Regions from separate parts of the Homo sapiens genome. Here region 1 is linked to region 2. Evidence: promoter capture Hi-C in 16 types of primary human blood cells and fetal thymus (Javierre and others, 2016). All regions are on one chromosome and are shown on one strand. The core of a region is centred on a gene start or on the middle of the fragment in contact, and the rest is flanking DNA. Distances in the headings are between cores, read along the strand shown. Region 1 overlaps ZNF385D (zinc finger protein 385D). Region 2 holds the start of RAB5A (RAB5A, member RAS oncogene family).

What was found. Contacts are between HindIII fragments. The CHiCAGO score rates a contact against its expected background, and 5 or more counts as called.
Region 1: a fragment that was not itself captured here is called in contact with the fragment with the promoter of RAB5A in region 2 in 1 of 17 cell types (monocytes); the score reaches 7.5 in monocytes.

What each region holds. Positions count from the first base shown.
Region 1 is chr3:21,505,123-21,511,403 of GRCh38, reverse strand. It overlaps ZNF385D (zinc finger protein 385D), which reads left to right. Exons shown (of 8, transcript NM_024697.3): 4 at 381-543. Among named protein-coding and RNA genes, the nearest start is that of ZNF385D-AS1, 35 kb to the left of the region's middle. The HindIII fragment of the contact is 4,371 bases long and covers 1,924-6,281 here.
Region 2 is chr3:19,944,991-19,950,822 of GRCh38, reverse strand. RAB5A (RAB5A, member RAS oncogene family) reads right to left here and starts at 3,726. Exons shown (of 6, transcript NM_004162.5): 1 at 3,302-3,726; 2 at 1-17. It also overlaps a transcript of EFHB not described here. RefSeq lists enhancers at 2,442-3,041, 3,088-3,137, 3,658-3,707, 3,569-3,738, 3,664-3,833 and 1 more. The HindIII fragment of the contact is 3,439 bases long and covers 3,339-5,832 here.

The DNA of each region.
Region 1 (6,281 bases), core at 2,860-5,359, 1.6 Mb before region 2:
GGTGAAAGCTACTCTTTTCTAGGGCTCTTGTTAATCTTTGGGAGCCCAGCATCTTCTGTGGCAGAACAAAGATGATACAGGTGTAAATTCTTATTTTTTTTCCCCGCTCCCACAAAGAAAATGTTGTTGATGTGTCAGTGTTCAGCTACATTTCTCTTAAGATAAACAACAGAGTATTTCTTCCTTCTATCCTGAGGTTTTACAACTGGATTCCCATTGCTTTCTAGCATCATTCTAAATAGAACCCCACTGTCTGGCCACGGCCAGAATTAGCTCGAATGGTACCTGTTATTGAAAGGGAGTCTGTATTTGCAGTAATACAGAGAATGCCAGTTTAGAAATGAGCCTGATTGCATGGTTCATTTTGTTCTCCTTTGTAGAGCCAGGCTGCGGCCCACTACAAAGGCACGAAACATGCCAAGAAGCTCAAAGCACTGGAAGCCATGAAAAATAAGCAGAAATCTGTAACTGCCAAGGACAGCGCAAAGACTACCTTCACCTCCATCACTACCAATACCATCAATACCAGCTCTGACAAAACAGGTTAAGCAATGATCTTTGTTGTTGTTGTCCTCGTCGTCGTCGTTGGGGATTCCCTCCCTTGTCTAGCCCCATGTCTGTTTACTTATGTGCCTGCCATATTGATTCATGCTTGAGCCATCTTTCTGTATAATGGTAATTGTTTCCTCTCATTTTTCCAAACCCCTGCAAGATTAAGATAATCACTAATTATATTCCAGATTTTGCATTTTGCAAGAGTCCTGTGGCTGTTTCAGAGGAATAGTCATAAAAGGCATTTGAAGCCATGTACCCCATAACTCTTTTTGAGAAATGAACCTTTTCAGTGTGCAGCATTTGCATCTTGTATGCAGCACCTTAGCTTATAACTGCATGGCAGATTTAATTTAATTGTGAGTACACAGCAAAGTATGCTAAATGAATTGAGAAGGCCCCAATAAGGGCATTATTACAGAAAGCCTTTATTGTCATAAATTCCAAATACTGCATTGTTTTAAGTAGTGGCTGTGTGATACTGGGCTTGTTATGGCTGGGTAACCTTCCCTCTGCAAACACAGGTAAGTGTTATTGATACCAATTACTCTTTTTAACAGAGGCTTCACGGTGAAATAATGGCCTCTGAATGGCCCCTTGGGATAGCTCCTGCCAACGACCAGCTTATTCATAATAGGGGAAGCTAGTGAGGTTTCCCCAAGCTGACATTTTAAATATAAGACCACTGGTTTTCGAAATCTACAGAGAAAATATTCCTCTGTGATTCATGGATATACCTCTAATAAATCACTTTCTAGAACACAGAGACTGTTACACCTCAATTGTTTTCCAGTCCATGTGAATGGCAATGGTAAGGAAACGTTCATATCATCACCAATGATAGTGTCTTAACTGAAAGAGGATCTTCTGGATATGACTGATGAAAACAGAAAATAAACAGTGAATGAATAGAATAGATTACGACAACCTTATTACACAATGTAACATCCTTATTACACAATGGACACATATCAGCTCTTCCAAGGACTGGGGATGCTGCAAGTGAATCTGTAAGGGATAATGATATTCTTAGTTCCTGTGGCATTTTGTATTTTCTTCAGGTATTATTGTAGATGCATCATGCTGCCCTCCCTAAGAGCCCTGTGTTTTCCCTCAGCCTGAATACATGTCTCATCTTTGTATGCTGGCAACTGGTCTGGCATGGGATAAATGCTGAGTAAAATGTCTGTTGAATGACTGAGACTTATTTCACTCCTTTGGTTTGGTTCTCTGATATAGCCAAGTTTGTGCCACCACATACTAAAGAGGAAAAAAAAAGACAGGCTTGTCATATTCACTTCTTTGTTATCCAGAGCAAGAGCTGGATTGTGCCATTTTATTAATTTAGATTTAAACCTTTTAGGGAAAGCTTTGGTCTTTTCTCTAATAATCGAAGACTACCTGCTTTATTTTGAGGGCTGAAAGAGAATGAGTGGTAATGAAGCAGGTAAGTGTAATTTCTGCTCCCGGATATTGGGTCACAGGTGGGGATCCCCAAAGCAGCATCTGGCATAGAGAAGTGCAGAAAAATCCTGAAGCCTTTTGATGCAAAGAAGGCAGTAGGTAGGGAGAACAAAGAGATGAGTTTGATGTAAAGGGTTAAAGTGACGTTTTTCCTTGCTCCAAATTTTTTCTACTTTTAGACTTTTTAAATCAACAATTCATCTTTGGGTTATCTTGACTTTTTTAAAATATGAAAATATGTGTTTCATTAAGGATGCACATCATTTAAAAATATATATATGTGTGGTAGGTAGAGCTGCTAACTTGAGTTAAGAAAAGCCCCCCGGAGCTTGCTGTGAGCCGAGATTGTGCCACTGCACTCCAGCCTGGGCGATAGAGCGAGACTCCATCTCAAAAAAGAAAAAGAAAAAAAAAAAAAGCCCCCAGGTGTGTTGTCTCTGTTAAGTAAATGGGTTGTGACTAGATACTTTCATCTCTTAACTTAGAGACTAGAATACGTCAACCTAGAATAATCCAAAGGGTCAGAATCTAGTTTAAAGAGAGTTTATCCAAGTGTTAAGTTGGAGAATGGCTGCCCAGAAAACACAGATTCCAAAGAATGGAAGTCAGTATTCCAAAGTGTAGAAGTTTAGTATCATTTTTATAGACAAAGTTTAGGGAAGTTTAACAGAATTTCAACACCTCTTTCTATATAAGGCTTAATGCTTAGTTACAGTAATCTGACATTGGTTGGGGTGGTCTTATTCTTTTGGGAAAGGTATATTTAACATTTTATACTGAGGATTTAATACTCATGGGGTCTTTTGCACCATCTAGTCTTAGGTACAGGACAATAAAGGATGTAGTTAATATATAACAAATATCAGTAATTGGAAGGGGGAGGCAGTCTGGTGTCTGGTCTCTCCTAGTCATTTACAGAACAAGAAAATGAGGAAGAGAATTAACCCCAAAGAAGCAGAAATTGCAAACATGTTATGTGACTCAGACACCAGTGCTTAACACCCCCACCCCACCCCTTGGCATAATAAATTTAGAGGGTCCTTAAATTTTATTTTCTTTTACAACTTTGAAGGGTGGCAGTCTTCCAGGATCTGTCCTTTCAGAAGTTGAGTGGTAACAAACTTTGGATTTGTCTTTTGAAGATAACATAAACATGCCAGAACTTACCTAACAGTGGAAATGGTGTTGAGATGATGAAGCACCCTTCCAAGCTGGAGCTAGAGAAAATTTCAAAAGGGCAGAAGAGATAGTAAAGTCTGTAAAGTTGGTGCAGATATTCTAAAGCCAAAAGAAGGAAGCGATGGACATTAGGAAAGACATTGCTTTCCTAATCCATGAGGACCTATATCAGGAAAAAACAAAACAAAACAAAAAAACAAACAAAAAAGCAAGTTATATAGGTTGAGAGGCTAAGAGTTCCAGCACACTCATCAGATATTTTGAGCCAAATTCTCTTTAAACTGAATTTACACAAAACTCTCTATGAGAAAAGACACCCATTTCGTAGACCCTTATTCTATTTGTATTGCAGTATAAACCTGAGGCATCTAGGCTAACAAATTTGAGTTTTCTTAAAGCAATTACATGTTCTTTTTATTACTATGTGCTTCCTCATACTGATTAGCACAACTCTGAAAACAAAATGAGTCTGAGCCTGGCACAGTGGCATGTGGCTATAGACTCGCCTACTTGGAAGGCTGAGGCACAAACAATTCCTTGCATCTGGGACTTTGAGACTGGACTGGGCAAAATAAGTGAGACCTCATCTCAAAACAAAAGGACTCTGAGCTAATTTTGTAGAATAGTTAAATACTTGGCAGAAGGAGAAGAAGAGGTAGATAAGACTCTAGAATCAAAGATCATGCATTTTTTAATAATAAAAAGAAAATTTCTGGTAATGCACAAGAATCTTTTGTGATTTGTAGGCTTGTCCATATATAAAAGATAGAGACACATGAAATCACATTTTAGTAATTTATCAAATCATTTTAATTAAAAAATCTATATGAAAAGAGTAATCCAATTATATATATATTTTAAAAACCCAAACTAATTCCTTTGAAAAATGTTAAACATGTCATACTTTGGTAAATGAGAACCCCTGGAGAGGGTTGGGGCAACAATAGTGAAAAGGGGAAGAAATGGTATGGCCTTTAATTAGAAAATTGATTTGGCGGTTTTCTCTAAAATGTAAGAAATAGAAAGAATACTCACAGAAACTAAATTTTCATTGTAAACCTAGTTGACTGATATAAAGACAATTTTGATTGATAATTCCTCTTAAATTTTCAAGTCATATATTATTTATTAGTATAAATAATAAGGTTTTATCTGCTGCCTTGGGGTAACACATACATCTAAACCATGGGGTTAGCTCCTATTCACTAACTTTATGATCTTGGGTTTTTGTGTTGCCTTTTTCTCTAATTATGCCAGTCTGCTAGAGTGCTGAGCAGAAAATTGTATTCAGTGATCAGCCACTGACTATTCATAGAAAGAATGCCTAGTTCATCTATCTCAAGGCAAAAACACACTTCCTAACGTTAAAGAACAATTTTAGTTCTTGTGATCTAATGAAGAGTGTTAGGTTGGTGAATTTACTTGTATAAAAGTTTACAGGTAAAAGTAATATTTTTAAAAAATATATTGAGCACTCTAAATTGCTGATAAGAGTGGTTACTATTTGTCACAGAATATTTCATAGAGCATTTCCAAAGATAGCCAGAATAATTGTCTAATCTAGCAAGTGTTTTTAAATACCAAGTTTTTTATTTAGAAAAATTAATGGCAAAATTTTAAAAATTATACTCAAAGTAACTAGGCAAGTGTAACTAACTTGTGTTGTTTGTTCTTCTATGAAATGACAAATTCAGATTTGTCTGAATAAGTTCTGTACAAGGTCATTCCCTGATCTTTCTTTACTTTTGATTCTTAGGGAATCTCATTCACATTGTTTATCAGTTAGGTTAGGCTAGGTTATATTGCAGTAATAAACAACCTCTAAAATCCTAGTGGCTTTTGCAATATCTAATTATTTCTTACTCATACTACATATCAGCTGTGGTTTTTCTTTCATCTTAATTTAACTCCAGGACTAGGCTGACGAAGCAACCACTAGCTGGAGAATTCTATGGAAGAGGGGAAAAGGCTCTTAGAGCTTTTTAGTGGACTGACACGTAATATTTCTCTCACTTTTCACTGGTAAGTTACATGGCCAAGCCTGATTACAATGGGGCAGGCAAGAATAATTCTCCTCTAGAGAAGCAAAACAGATATTAGTCAGCAATTATATAACATTCTATTGTTAACTTCAATCACTAGACCTACAAATTTGGAGAGAAGAGCTTTATTTCTTATAGTTACAGCCTGCAGGGTGGCCATCCTGACAGTCTGGGAAGCACAGCCTCCATCAGAGTCTGAGAATAGGTACTTCGAGGGAGGAGAGATAAAACAGGAATTTATGCTGAAACGGTTGGCCAAGTATACATATTCAATGAGATATAGGAGGAGCTATGAATATTGACAAAGGGGGGATGTATGCATGCATACTAAGGAAACATTCATGTTACATATGACCCATGTTCATTTTGGGGTGGAGACTTTAAATAAATTACAATTAGGTCCTTTGAGTCAAAAGCTGAAACAGGGACATGAAGGCACTTACATATGCAGCCTCTGTAAACTGGCCAGAACCAGTCCATGGCCAGTGTTCTCTTATTAAGAGAAAGTTACTGAAGTCGATTTCTTGTCCAGTCAAGGCTGTAGTTATGGCTTGTGAAAAGTTGGGGAGTGTTAGGCAATGTCTGGTGGTCAGTGAGCTGCAATTGTTTCAATATTGCTTATCTTGAGTCCAGTGCTTGTTTAGCTGCTAGAGAAAAGAAAAATGTTGTGATAGTTAGAACAGTTAGAACATAGTTTACTCTCTACGTGTAGGGGTGTGTGCCTTAAACTTTGTCAGGCATGGCCTTAGTTGTTATTTAGAATTTTGTATCTTATTGCCACAAAGAGTCTGTTCCTTCAATCTTATGGTCTCTATTTGAACACTATCATGGCTTCCTTCAAGTATCACTTGTGCTTAGATGTCTTAAGATTCTCTTGCCCTGTCCTTCTCCTAAGTCCAGATCTGCTTTTCCATGGCCCATTGCTCACTTACTTGGATGGCTTTCAAGCATCAATACTTAACAGATTCAAAAAACAAACAAACAAATGAAAAAAACCAGTCCTCATCCTGACCATCATCGTTTATTTTGAGTTCTGCACTTCCC
Region 2 (5,832 bases), core at 2,477-4,976:
TCTGGAGGTAAAGAAACCTGTAAAGAAACAATTATGAATTAAATATACAAATCAGTAAAGCAAATTTACTATTAATCACTTTAAATATTGCCTATAGCATGATTATCTTAAACTCTACTAGACCTTCAATGCCCTTTAGATTATGTCACTATCTTTTAAAGGAAATTCAAAGGTATAGGATGTGAGTCCAAAATTACTTTTTTTTTTAAAGGCTAACCTCAAAGCTTCAAGTTTGTGCCAGGCAGTGCTTTAAGTACTTAACTTCTCAACAATCCTATAAAATGAGATATTATTACAATCCTTATAAATGAGGAAACAAGCACAGAGATGTTAAGAAGCTTAATTGAGGTCACACAGTTATTGTCACAGAAGTGACAGAGCCGAGTTTCAAACCCAGGCAACCTGAGAGATGACTCGAGTTCAAGTTCTGTAGCCAGGCTACTTGGATTAACATTGTTTTGAGAAAAATTATGTTATTAATAAATGGGAAACTTTTAGAACAGATCCTAAAATTTAGTATTATTTGAAGTTTTCTGTTAAACGATGCATTTTTCATTTAATTAATGGTAATTTTGGACAACAAATATTTTCAGTCTCCCAGGTTTGTGTGCCTAACGGCAGACTTAAAACTGTTTCCTCATCTGCTCAAGCACACCATACACAGAAATGCTAACAGTTGTTCTCCATGTGGTGATTATTACTGACTTATTTACTTACAATAATTGTAACTTTTTTGTAGTCTTTAGACGAACAATATACATGCCATTTTTAAAAAAATTTTTTTGGAGAAAGGGTTTTGCTCTCTCACCCAGGCTGGAGTGCAGTGGCGTGGTCACAGCTCACTGCAACCTAGACCTCCTGGGCTCAAGCAATCCTCCTGCCTCAACCTCCTGAGTAGCTGAGACTACAGGCGCTCAGAACCATGCCAGGCTAATTTTTTGGTAGAGACACTTAACTGCTATGTTGCCCAGGATGATCCTGAACTCTCGGGCTCAAGCAATCCTCCTGCCTCAGCCTCGCAAAGTGCTGGGATTACAGGTGTGAGCCACCACGCCCAGCCTGCAGGCCATTATTTTTTATTTAAACAACACATTAAAGAAATCTAGCCTGAATGGCGACTTCTATGCTAATTTTTAATCTCTAAGGAATTAGTGAATATTTGAAGAACCTTTTTCAATCCACTCACAAACCAATCTTAACAGTTTCCTTCTATCTTTAATCAAAATCCGAATACATGCTAATATATTAAACCTGATGATTCCCTCTCTAAAAACCCTGCTATATTTCATTTAGCTACCTCATATAAGAAATACGTCTTTCACACTGGACAGAGTGGCTTATACCGGTAAATCCCAACACTTTGGGGGTGAGGCAGGAGGACTCTGAGACCAGCCTGGGCAACACAGTGAGACCCTGTCTCTATATTAAAAACAAAAGAAAGAAATATGCCTTTCCCATAAAATGAGCTTATAATACGCTCTTCATAATGAATTCCCTAACATGTCCACGAGATCTTAGTTCTTAAGGCAATGAAACTACCTCCTTGCCTTAACTAAACACCAGCTTTTTAGAGTCCTTATCTTTTACCATTACATACTGAAATATTTACAGATTTATTGACGTAATATCTGAGTTGCTTCCAAATAACAAGGTATAAATAAAAATGCCCCCTCCTCCACAAACATACCAGATTTAGGGGTGTAATCCTGGCTATACCAATTTCCGTCTGGGCAAACTCTTTAATTTCCAAGTTTCTATTCCCATAATATCTAACTTGCATAGCTGATGTGACAATTAAATAAAACAATACATGTAAACAATCTCTAATATACATAGTAGGGATTGAAATTGCCAATAATGTGCTCCTTTGATAAGAAAATGATAAAATATCAATAGAACATCATATATACTGAAAATGCACCAATACATCTTCAGATATTACACACAATCAAAACATTTTCCATTTGTCTTTTTATTTAAGAAAACAAGAAATTACTTATCAAGGACAATATGCTCCAAATTTCTACGGCACTTCCAAAATTTTAGGGAAAATATCAGACTCCCATTAAAAAAAAAAATCAAACAAGATTCTGATTTCACTTTGACTTTTAAGGTTTAAAGCTACTTAATTGTGGCTACTCCCCCTAAGGATCTCAAACAGGAAATAACTAAAGTTAATGGTAAATATACACTTAGCATAACACTAAGGTTAAAAATTACGTGCATTCATTTGTATTCACTGCTTACTGAAACTTCTGTTTTGCAAAACAAGAATTTTGCATAATATACATTTGTAATCTTTTGAAAATAACTGTTATTCATTCTATAGTTAAAATCCTTCTAAGGGTTCTTTGATCAAAAAATTGACTGGGCACTTATTTTGTGCCAGGCACTGTTCCATTTACTTTGTTTATACAAATGCTGAGTTATCACTTCCATTTTACTTTAGGAATAAAGTTTATGAGCAGTCTTGAGTATTCCCAGAGGTGTACAAGTGTTTTTTTCTTATTATGTGAAAGGCAACTGATTGAACGCTTTGATTCCATTTAAGCAAGACAAAAACCAAGTATGTGAACTATGACGTTCAGAACTTAACAAGTTTGAAAGTCTCAGAGGTAAGCAGCTTCCAGGGAAGATAACGCCAGAGCAAGTTCCATGGTCTCTACCCAGTGAAGGAGTTCAGCGGTCCTGTTATCTTGAATTTATTTAACGCTGTAGTTCACTACCTTCCAAACAGAAAACAAGTCTCTAGACAGCCTATTTTGACGAGCCTCCCACCCACCGACACTACTCATCTTTGGAAGTTGAAGATAGGCGGAGCTCCCCACATTGACACCTGCAGTAGGCCCAGGTTCCTGCTTGGAGAGCACCTGAGTAGCTAATAGCCAACTACAGATCGCCTGGATAAGCAGCACTCGCCAGGTCCCTTGGCCTTTCCAACCTCCTCCCCCGAACCTGCCTTGCTTTGACCGAGACCCCCAGGACTGCCAGGACGGAGACCAGGCGGAACCGCGGCCTCCAGTACACTTTCCACGGCGCCATCTTGAGAAGGGAAAGGGTGACACCCGTCGCTCCCTCAGTCAGTCCCCAAATCCCGGTCTCCAGAGCCCCTGGAGGATGAGTCACCAGGGCTGGCAGAACAAGACGCCGGGTTCGATAGTTCTCTGGTCCAGGGCACTGCTGCGCGTGAGGGAGAAGGGGTGGGGGGTCTCAGTACCGGCAGGGCCGCGGACAGGCTGGGGACCGCGGATAACCTGGGGTCCAGGCCCCCGCTGCGCAGGAGGAGGGGCGGTTCGGTTACCTGAGACCGCAGCAAGCCGAGCTGCGGGGCCGAAGCTTCCTGGCAGCAAGGCCCAGGCGTGGCCCGTAGGATGAGAGTGTATCTATGGCGGTGGTGGTGGCGGCGGCGGCGTCGCCTGCTCTTAGCGCCGCTCCCCTCACACTGGACTGTGCGGGGCTCGTGCCGTGGTGCCGCCCCTGTCGGGCTCCGTCTCCGCCTCTCGCCGCTCCCCCTTCCTCTTTCCTTTCTCCTCCTCCGCCGCCGCCGCCGCCGCCGGCGCTGGAGTTCCGACTAATTCTTCCTCCTCCTCCTCCCTCTGCCTCCTCCCCTAAGGCCAGCCGCCGGCTCCTTCACGAACCAAAACACAAACACTCAAGTCCCACCGCCGGAGCCACTTCCGCTGCCCGGTGCCGGCCCCGCCGCCACGTCGCTGCACGCAGCGAACTGCGCCACTTCGTCACTTCCCATCATCGCCAGTCCGCCTGCTCCTTCCGCTTCCTCGCCCCTTCCCGAATCCCTCCCCGCCTAGGTTTGTTCGCGGGGCGGGGCGAGGCAGGATGTCACGTGACCCTGCGAGTGGCTCAGATCCGAACTGGCCGCCTTTCTCCCCTTCCCCCACCCCAGGTACGCGCGGCCACGCCCTCTCCAGCGCCATTGTTATTTAGGCTGGGGGGTCTCTGGGCTCCTGGCGGCCGGGGTCGGGGGAAATTCCTTTACTATTCTTTGGGGGAAGATCAAAATAACTTGTGTTTTTTTGTTTGTTTTTTGTGCCCAGCCCTTGTGGGAGCGGCGAGGTTCCCTAACCCCAATCCTGGCATCTCGGCTAAGGGGCTTTATTAGAGGGAACTTGTCTAGCACGAGAGAACCTCCTCCCACAAAATGGCCCTGGGGTTGGGTAGGTCGGTAAAGGCTGCTAAATCGCATTTACCCCAAGGAGGAAGAAAGGACCCTCCCTATCCCAAAAGCCGCCTTTAGGCGCCTGACAATAAGAAGTCGCTTCTGTTAAGAGTTTACGTGGTTTTGGTAGGGGGCGGGGAAGGCCAAATCCTAAAATAGTGTCTGCCTTTTATTCAGAATTTCCCTTCGCTCTTTACTGTACTAAACGCTTTACAGGAATTATCCCATTGAATTCTTACACTCGAGTCTTTCATTCTGAAACTAACTTGTTAATCGTCTGTTCCCTACATTCGAATTTTAGCTCCCCTTGGTGGTCCTCACCGCTGTAAATCTATGTCTAGCCCAGTGCCTGGCAGCCAAGTCTTCAGTTCTAGTTGTAGATGTTTTATAGGTAAAGAATTTGAGACACAAGAGATTGAGTAACTTGTCCGAGATCACGGCTGTGTGGTGCAGAAGCTGGATTCTGATCTGCGGCGGGTTGGCTCCAGAACGTGAGTTGTTGAACACAATTCTGGTGAAAGACAACCCAAGATGTTCGTTACCCTCCACGGGGGACCTACTGAAGATGTGCTGCTTTAGTTGAATCCCACACCACATTCAGTCTCTGGCGAGGCTTCAGCCACCACCCCCTCCCCAGCCTCCGCCAAAAAAATTGTTTTGATAATTTAGTGGAAGAATATTAAATTGATTTTCCTTCAGAATAAAGGCTACTTTTCAGTTTGCAGTTTACAATGTATAGCTCTGTTGTAAGGGCGAGAATATTGTCTTTGAAGTGTACCGGGTTAAGGTATCTTATGGGCGTACAGTCGGCGGCATTGTGCAATTAAGATGATTTGAACTTTGAACAGCCCGTCTTTCAGATCAACTACCTAGTTGCCAGAAGAACGTAATGTGTCATACGTAAATGATACCTGTGGCATTTTATTCTCAAGGAGTTGTTCAATATGAACTATTAATCATGGTAATAGCTCTGGGACAATCCCAGGAGGAGTCAGGAAATAGGATATGTGACATCAGTTTTGTCATGTCAACAGTATGCCCAAAACGAAACCTATTCCACTCCAAACCTGCTTCTGCTTAGAGACTGGCATTAACATCCTCCCAGTCACCCAGACTTGGAACTGCAGAATCAGCTTCACCTCTTTCTTCTCCTCACAAACCATTGTCCATTCTATCAACAAATTATCTAATCCCCAAATTTGAAGTCTAATCCCAACACCTGGTCCATGGTAGTGTTTATATAAACTGAAATTAATGCATACTGCTGTTCTTTCTGTCCATTCTTTACATTTTAGCCACTCTACTAAAAAATGTTCAATGCTATGTCATTACTTGACAGTCTAAAGTTCTTTAACTCTAGTCCCAACCCAAGTTTCTTTCATTCTATTTCTATAGAATTCCTCTCCCCATACTCTTTATTTGTTCCCTGATCACACGTATCTGGTCTGTGTTCCCTGAATATTGCCTGTGTGTTGCCATCTTGGTATCTGATCACTTTATTTTCTCCACATGGAACACTATCATTGCCCATAACTGCTGGCTCCGTCTTAGCCAGGACACCAGTTCCTTTGGACCGCATCTGCAGATACTTCTACTGGATTCAATTATTATTTTTTCTGTAATTTCACAATACTTTGCCTTACTCTGTATAATGG